3 separate regions of the Homo sapiens genome follow, and regions 1 and 3 are each linked to region 2. Evidence: promoter capture Hi-C in 16 types of primary human blood cells and fetal thymus (Javierre and others, 2016). All regions are on one chromosome and are shown on one strand. The core of a region is centred on a gene start or on the middle of the fragment in contact, and the rest is flanking DNA. Distances in the headings are between cores, read along the strand shown. Region 1 has its middle 49 kb from the start of KCNIP1. Region 2 holds the start of FOXI1 (forkhead box I1). Region 3 overlaps KCNIP1-OT1 (KCNIP1 overlapping transcript 1).

The links. The method cuts DNA at HindIII sites, captures the fragments that hold promoters and counts their contacts. A CHiCAGO score of 5 or more calls a contact.
Region 1: a contact is called between a fragment that was not itself captured here and the fragment with the promoter of FOXI1 in region 2, in 1 of 17 cell types (total CD8 T cells). The highest score is 5.7, in total CD8 T cells.
Region 3: a fragment that was not itself captured here is called in contact with the fragment with the promoter of FOXI1 in region 2 in 9 of 17 cell types (naive CD8 T cells, monocytes, non-activated CD4 T cells and 6 more); the score reaches 8.6 in naive CD8 T cells.

The regions. Positions count from the first base shown.
Region 1 is chr5:170,453,441-170,456,140 of GRCh38, reverse strand. It overlaps a transcript of KCNIP1 not described here. Among named protein-coding and RNA genes, the nearest start is that of KCNIP1, 49 kb to the left of the region's middle. The HindIII fragment of the contact is 1,433 bases long and covers 572-2,004 here.
Region 2 is chr5:170,104,637-170,107,336 of GRCh38, reverse strand. It overlaps FOXI1 (forkhead box I1), which reads right to left and starts at 1,440. Exons shown (of 2, transcript NM_012188.5): 1 at 806-1,440. The coding sequence starts at 1,379. The HindIII fragment of the contact is 5,348 bases long and covers 1-2,700 here.
Region 3 is chr5:170,405,123-170,407,822 of GRCh38, reverse strand. The region is part of intron 1 of KCNIP1-OT1 (KCNIP1 overlapping transcript 1); the gene reads right to left. It also overlaps a transcript of KCNIP1 not described here. Among named protein-coding and RNA genes, the nearest start is that of KCNIP1-OT1, 17 kb to the right of the region's middle. The HindIII fragment of the contact is 478 bases long and covers 1,208-1,685 here.

The sequences.
Region 1 (2,700 bases), core at 39-2,538, 350 kb before region 2:
ATTCTTTTTTATGGCTGCATAGTATTCCATGGTGTATATGTGCCACATTTTCTTTGTCCAGTCTATCATTGATGGGCATTTGGGTTGGTTCCAAGTCTTTGCCATTGGAAATAGTGCCTCAATAAATATATGTATGCATGTGTCTTTATAGTAGAATGATTTATAATCCTTTGGGTGTATACCCAGTAATGGGATTGCTGGGTCAAATGGTATTTCTGGTTCTAGATCCTTGAGGAATCGCCATATTGTCTTCCACAGTGGTTGAACTAATTTACAGTCCCACCAACAGTGTAACTTTCTCCATTTTTAATGTAGGTATGTGGAGCTATAAATTTCCCTCTAAGCATTGCTTTAGCTATATTGCATAAATTTTTATATGTTGTGTCTTAATTTTCATTCATCTCAAAGTATTTTCTCATTTATTTTGTGATTTCTTCTTCAACCAATTGGTTACTTATGGGTATGTTAATTTCTATATAGTTGTGAGTTTCCAAAAGTTCTTTCTAATTTTATTCTTTGTGGCCAAGGAACAGATTGTGTATAATTTCAGTCCTTTTAAATTATCGAAGCTTGTTTTGTGGCCTAGCATATGGTCTATTCTACAGAATGTTTGATGTGTACTTAAGAAGAATATGTGGGCCAGGCATGTGGCTTGTGCCTATAATCCCAGCACTTTGGGAAGCTGAGGCCCATGTATCACCTGAGCCTGGGAAGTTGAGGCTGCAGTGAGCCATGATCACACCACTGCACTCTAGCCTGGGCAACAGAGTAAGATCCTGTTGAAGAAGAAGAAGAAGGAGAAGGAGAAAGAGAAGAAGGAAGAAGAAGAAGGGGAAGGGGAAGGGGAAGGGGAGGAGGAGGAGAAGTAGGAGGAGGAAGACTTCTGTTGTTGGGTGGATTATTCTATAGATATCCATTAGGCCTAGTTGGTGTATAGCTTTGTTAAAATATTCTATTTTCTTGTTGATCTTATGTCTAGTTGTTCTATCCATTATTGAAAGTGAGGTATTGAAGTTTCTAAATATTGCTGAGCTGCCTATTTATTTATCCCTTCAACTTTGTCAGTTTTTGTTTTATGTATTTTGAGATTCTATTTTTAGGAGCATATTTGTTTATAATTGTGGTATCTTCCTGATATTTTGATACTTTTATTATTATAAAATGTCCCTTTCTATCTGTATTAACATTTTTGTTTTAAAATCCATTTTGTCTAACATTGAAATAGCTACTCCAGGTTTATCTCTTCTTTTTTTAAGAACAATATTTTTTTAACCTTCATTGAACTTTGTAGTGAGGGTAAAAGTAATAGAAACATCAAATGAATACACAGACTAGATAATCTGTAAAAATAACTAGTTCTTTATGTTTACACAGAAGTCTGTCACACAGATTTCAGAATTACATAGCTTAAAGAGTTCTAATTATATAAAAACATTCTTAATTCTGAAATATTTCCAACTTCCTACTCATTTTTCTTAGAAATCTACAGGCAACATTTCATAGTTTTACCAGGTAAAGTTTAATGTCTTTTCATATGATCATCAGGAAGTTTTCTAAACTTCTCACCTGCATTCTTAATTCTTAGTCTGTGTAAGACAGAGTACAAAAACCAGTTCTCCTGGGCATCAGGTATCTCCTGACTTATAAGTAAGGGTCTCTGGCAGGATGCAAACATTTTAGGTCAAGGCCACTTCTTGGAATTTGTTTCAGGTTTAGGTACACTCCTCTAGTCCTTCATTACATTTAATGCCAATCTCTTTGTTTCACATTGCTCATTATCACTTGGAAGAAGCTACCTGTATGCATACCAAAATTTAATTTGTCCCTTCCTCCCACCTTTTGTGAGTTAATTATACTCACTTCTTCGAGTCAACCATGAAAACAAATGCACTTCTTGAGGATTTTAAAGAAATTTGGGTGTGTTGAGAAAGAAAAGACCTTCTAAAACTGCAGGACGTTTTCCTCTTTTTGCAAAGCATGAATTATTCTTCTAGGAATAAAGCTTGCTTTCCTGTGAATGGATTGAAATCTGGAGCTAGCTAACCTTCTTGAGCAGCTGTAATAGTTTTCTAAACTGTGTAACAACTAACATACCTTTATGATGTGACAGTTTCTGTGGGTCAGAAGAATGGACACGGTTCAGCTGTGTCCTTTTCCCCAGGTCTCACAAGACTGCAATCAAGGTGTTGGCTGGTCTGTATTTTACTTGTCAGGCTCAACTTGGGGAGAATCTAGTTCCAGCCTTACTCAGGATGTTGGCAGAATTCATTTCCTGTATGTGTAGAACCAAGGACGTCTGTTTCTTGCTGGGTGTTTGCTGGATGCCAGTCTCAGCACCTGGGCTTCCCACAGCTCCTTGCCACGTGGAAGTCTTCATCATGGTTACATACTTTGTCAAGTCAGCAAGGAGAATCTCTAGCATGAATCTTCCATCATAAAGGAGCCACATGATGTAATGTAATCACAGGAGTAACGTCCCACCACCTCCGCCATATTCCACTGGTTAGAAGCAAGTCACAGATCTCATCTACCTTCAAGTGGAGGTTATTACATAAAGGTGTAAATACCAGAAGGCAGAGCTGATTGGCAATTAATTTAGGGTCTGTCCACTAGTCGTGTTGGAGTACTCCTTAAAAGATATGCCCCAAAGTTACTTTCAGATTTTCTAAAAAGGAAACTGGAACCAGGAATGTGGTACCC
Region 2 (2,700 bases), core at 191-2,690:
TGGCTTCCTGCGGTGGAACAAAAGTGGACTTTAATTCTGGGAAATGGATGCATGAGTATTTAATACATGCCTCTCTGCAGGTCTCTGAGTTTTAGAAATGCATCGTTGAAAAGGAAAAGCTCACAATTTCTGATGTTAGAGAAAACTGAGTTCAAATTCAAGCTCCATCACTATCACTTCATTCTGTGTCACCTCTGAGTGTTATTTTCCTAATCTGTAGAATGGGTTTCATAAGAGCTACCCTGCAGGGGTGTCTTCGGGTTAAAGGAGGTTACCTAAGTAGAAACAAGGCAGGCAGCAAAATGGGCCATTAGTGGCTGTTTAACCCAGGTCAGATCCTCTTCCTGGCAGTCTTGGGATGCCCTTGGGCTTTGGTTGGTCCAGTCATTCATTCACCAAAGACTTTCTATGTGCTGGGTGCTGGAGATGCAGATGAATCGTAATTACTGCAGGCGATTAAGCGCTTGATAACACCTAAAACCTTGTGTACATTATCTCATCACCTCCACTGCAGCCTGCAAAGCAGATGCTGTCACTATCCCTGGTTTTCCGATGAGGGAACTGAGGCTCTGAGGTCTAACCTGCCAGAGGTCACTGACTGGGCAGGAGCACAGCCAGGGCTGAAACCCAAATCTTCCCCCAGGCCCATGCTCTCCTTCACTGCTGAGCTCCCCTCTGTCCTGCCTGGTAGCATCCCCCAGTCTTGGGGGGCACAGCCCTAGTCAGAACTTTCTAGAATGGGGTCTTGGGGAGGAAGGAAGTGAGTCTTCCTTGGGGACACCCCCCACACTCAAAGCCTCCTTACCCGGGTCGTCCTCGTCGCGGGGCACCTTCTTGAAGCAGTCGTTGAGCGACAGGTTGTGGCGGATGGAGTTCTGCCAGCCGGCCTTGCTCTTGTTGTAGAAGGGGAAGTTGTCGGCCACGTACTGGTAGATCTGGCTGAGAGTGAGGCGCTTGTCGGGTGCCCCGTGGATGGCCATGGCGATGAGAGCCGAGTAGGAATAGGGTGGCCGCACCAGCTTCATCAGCTCCTCCTGCGAGGGGATGGGCAGCCAGCCCAGGTCGCTCCCCCCAAGCCCCGACACGCTGGGCAGCAGCGGCCTCTGCACTCCATAGGCCTGGGGCAGGAAGGGGCTGGCGTTGGGGCCGGGCAGGTAGGGTGGCGGGGTCATGGTGGGCCCGTTGAACCAGAGGTAGGGGTTGGGGGTGGCCCCATACTCGCCGCCCCCCTCGAAGGAGGGCCGCTGAGGGCTGGGCACGCCCTGTGGGTGGAAGAAGTTCTCATAGTAGAGGTTCATCTCGGGGGGCTCCTGGCCGATGCTGGGGAACTGGGGGCTGCAGCGAGGTGGGGAGGGCGCCGGCAGGTCGAAGGAGCTCATGCTGGGGCTGGGCTGGCCGGAGCCACCTGCCTGGCACCTGCACCCCGGAGCTGCCCCTGACAGGTGCTCAGCAGGCCCGGCCTCCCACTTATACCCCTAGGGCTTGGCCGGGCGGCCCCACCCAGGGGCGGCCACCTGCCTGTGGATCCCAGCCCAGGGCCCGCCCTCCCTCAGCCTCCAGCCCACGGGGAGGGGACTTTCCCGCTGGCGCCTCAGGTCCCCACTAATGACATGCTAGACGGCTTACCAGAGCTGACACGCAGCGCAGCGAGAACGCCCCTCTATCCTCTCTCCCGGCTTTCTCTCCTGTCTTTTCTCACCATCCTCATGATTCCCTTCTTCTTTTTCTCCTTTATTCTGTCTTACTTCTCTCATTTTTTTTTCTGTCCTTCCCTTTCGTCACATTTTTCTACCCACCTCGGTTTCCTTCTCTCTCTCCCTCCTCTCCTCTCTGCATCTCATTCTCTGTTTCTTTCCTTCTTATTTTCTTTCCTCCCTTCTGCTCTGAACTGTGTTTCTTTTCTATGAACTGATCTGGCCACATCACAGCTGCTCATTCCCGTTCTCTCTCTCTCTCTCTCTCTCTCCCCCTCCCTCTCTCCCTCTCTCCCTCTGTCTCTAGGCTTCCAGTTCTTCTTTCCACTTCCATCTCTCGCTTCCATTCTCATTGTCTTCCCGGCTTCTCCCCTTTCTCCTTCTCTTTCACTCTGTCCCTTTCTCTCCACCTCTCATTTTCTCTGCGCCTCTCTTCCCATCCCCTCATTCTCCCTCCTCTTCCCCCCAATGTCCCCTCATTCTCTAACCAACTGCCCCAGCCGGGACTGGGTGGGACACTTTATCAGAAACCCTGTTTCTTGGTCTTTTGAGGTGAGGAGGCACTTTCTGGAGTTGCCAGGAGAGAACCGGCCCTGGAGACTCAGAAGAGGGCGCAGAGGGGCCTGGGCTGGCTTCTGGTGGGGTTCAAGGGGGCAACCAGTCATAGGCACCGCAGCCTCCCCCAACACACACATACACGCACACACGCGTACGCGCACACGCACACACGCGCACACGCACACGCGCACGCCCACACACGCGCACACGCCCACGCACGCACGCGCACACACGCACGCACACACACACGCATATGCATACATGCTGCAGACGGGCAGAGAACCTGAGAATTTGCCTGGAGAGCAGCAAGGCTCTTAAAAATAATAGCAAAAGGGGAAAATGGGGAATCAGTCTTCAGGGAAAAGTGAGAGAACTTGAACAATTCAAGTTTCTTTCCAGCTGCAGGGCAAGCAGGCTCCCAGCTCCTCTCTGATCCAAAGACCTTTCA
Region 3 (2,700 bases), core at 197-2,696, 300 kb before region 2:
ATAAATCCGCTATGACATGTTTGGAACCTGAGCAGGAATGTGACACATTTTCAGATTGGGCACTTGTTCTGTCAATAATGTCCAAGTTTGCCCTGCCCTCAGGAAGCGTGTTGGGTGGTTGGAAGTCAAGACTAGCAAATGTAAAATGATGACAGAAACAACACAAGGCAGATCCTAAAATGTGTTCTGAAATTTATAAATACTGTAGGGCAATGCTTTCCAAAGTGCATTCTATAGAAATGCAGTTCCCTGTAGTATTAACATGTCTTTAAAAAATATTCAACAGTCACAAATATGATAATAGTCTTTGTGTTCAAGGATTGGGATTGTTGGTAAAAATTTCAAACCTCCCTATCTTTACATAGCATTTAAAAAAATTTTTTTGTTACACTTATGGATAGAAGGAAATAAAAGTATCAGCCAAGGCAGACAGTACCCTTACCTTTCTAAATTCCTGCCCATCCTTAGATCTATAAATGTTTCTCCCATTCCCAGCAGCTGCACCCACCTTAGTTGTGGGAAAGCACCTGCAATCCTTGTCTTTCTTGTTACGCAACATGATGGGGCACAGACCCAGCCCTGGGGTCCTTAACCATGGCACGTGCAGCTTCCCCCGCTAGCAGTAGCATGCTGTCACTCTTAACTCGTCTATGGTTAGCTGGTCCGTGGTGTGGACAGGCAAGGGCTGCTGCCCACCATGCGCACCACAGACCCTAGGCTGTTTCCCAGTGTCAGTTCCTCAAAATCACCCCCAAGGCTCCATGCTGCTCTGAGGACTCCATTAGCTGAGGATTTCATAGGCTGAGTATCTTGCGAGCAAGAGAACAGTATGGACTTCTTGGTCTTGAAAGCTGCTGAATGGTGCTGGGTTGAGTCTGAGGAAGCTGATGCCCCCACATCTCTTGGGGTTTTTATTTGGGGTCTCCAGCTTTGGGATCTTCTGTTGACACTCATGGCACAGATTTGGGCCCATGGCCTTGCCTCCTGCCTGGCCTTGGACCTCATGAATGCGGAAGGCCTGGGGTTCTCCAAGCTCTAGGCAGGAAGCAGATTCCTCTCTGTGCAAAGACCCTCCAGGCCTCGGAATGAGGAAGGAGCCTAAGAGGGAGAGGGTGTGAACCTTCTGGGGCCGACATAGGAAGAAGAGAGGGATGCTGATGTGGGAGGAGAAATAAACCGCTTTCCTGGGTATGAGGGCTAGTAAGCTTACTGGCCCCTGCTGAAGGTCTTCCAGGCCATGCTGCCTTGAACAGGCCACTCACCTCTTGTGCCTGAGCCACTTTTTAAATTCAGTAGGTGTAATTATTGCTACCTGCCATTTCTTGTCAAAATCCTTATAATAACCCTGTATGGGTTATTATGTCCATTTTAGAGATGGAAAAACCAAGGCACAGAGCAGTCAAGTAACTTGGCCACATTTACACGACCAATAATGGGTAGGTGATTTGAGGCTGAGTGTGTTGAACTCCAGAGCCCTTGCCCTCAAATGCTATACACACAAGCTCTCCAGCTTACTCTTCATTTATTTGCTCAAAGGGCCAGTCCTCTTTTAACTTCCAGACCCACGGATCCGTGATTTTCCATAAACGTACCCCCAATCTCTCTCCCACCAACTCACTGCTCATGGTGATCCCAATTTCCCTTATATTAGAGCCAAATATTTTTAGAAAATCTTCAATGAAGCTTGTTATCTAGGAGGAAAACATAGTAACTATAAATGCAATTATCAGTTAGCTGGTGTTTTAGACAAACAAGGAACTGAGGAAGTAAAAGAGGAGACAGATAAGTTTTGAGGAAGTGGAAGAGGTGTCTGGCTGAAATGTCAAGCCCGGAGAAACGGGCAGGGGAGAGGTATTCTAGCCCCTAGTCTCTATCTGGATGTGGGACAAATCTTGGTGTTGCCAATCACACAAGGTTTCCATGAGAATCACATGGAAACATGATTGAGCAGGGGCTGGTAACACAGCTGTGGAAAGGGACTGTGAGAGCCAGCCTGGGATGGGAGCTCGTCTGTGATACCACCTGCTCCCCAGCTCAGGGTGCAGGTGTTACCATCACTGGTCCAGGAGACTCCTCATCCAGTCTCACATGGACAAGAAGATCACAGGGGCCTGAACCAATCGTTATGTACCACAGAACTGACTGTCAGAGAACAATGACCACAGACACTAATACTTTTGCCCAAGGAAGGGTCTGCCCAGTTGTGCTTCATTCCAGCTTCCTGGCATGAGGCACCAGGAAAACAAAATGAATCAAGAGAAGCCAGGAGGCCCTGCAAGGATGCCTGAGTCCAGGCTGCTGCTGAGAATCCCTCTTCTCAGCTGGGCACAACGGCTCAGGCTGATAATCCCAGCACTTTGGGAGGCCAAGGTGAGCAGATCACCTGAGGTCAAGAATTCAAGACCAGCCTGGCTAACCTGGCGAAACCCTGTCTCTACTAAAAAATTAAAATATACTAATAATTAACTGGGCATGGTGGTGGTGCCTGCAGTCCCAGCTACTTGGGAGGCTGAGGTAGGAGAATCGCTTGATACCTGGAGGCGGAGGTTACAGTATGCCGAGATTGCACCACTGCACTCCACCCTGGGCAACAGAGCAAGACTTCATCTCAAAAAAAAAAGAAAAGAAAATCCCTTTTCTCTCTGTGGCTGGAGGTAAAGCAGCATAATTTTGCAGGGCAATTTGGCATATGTATTATTT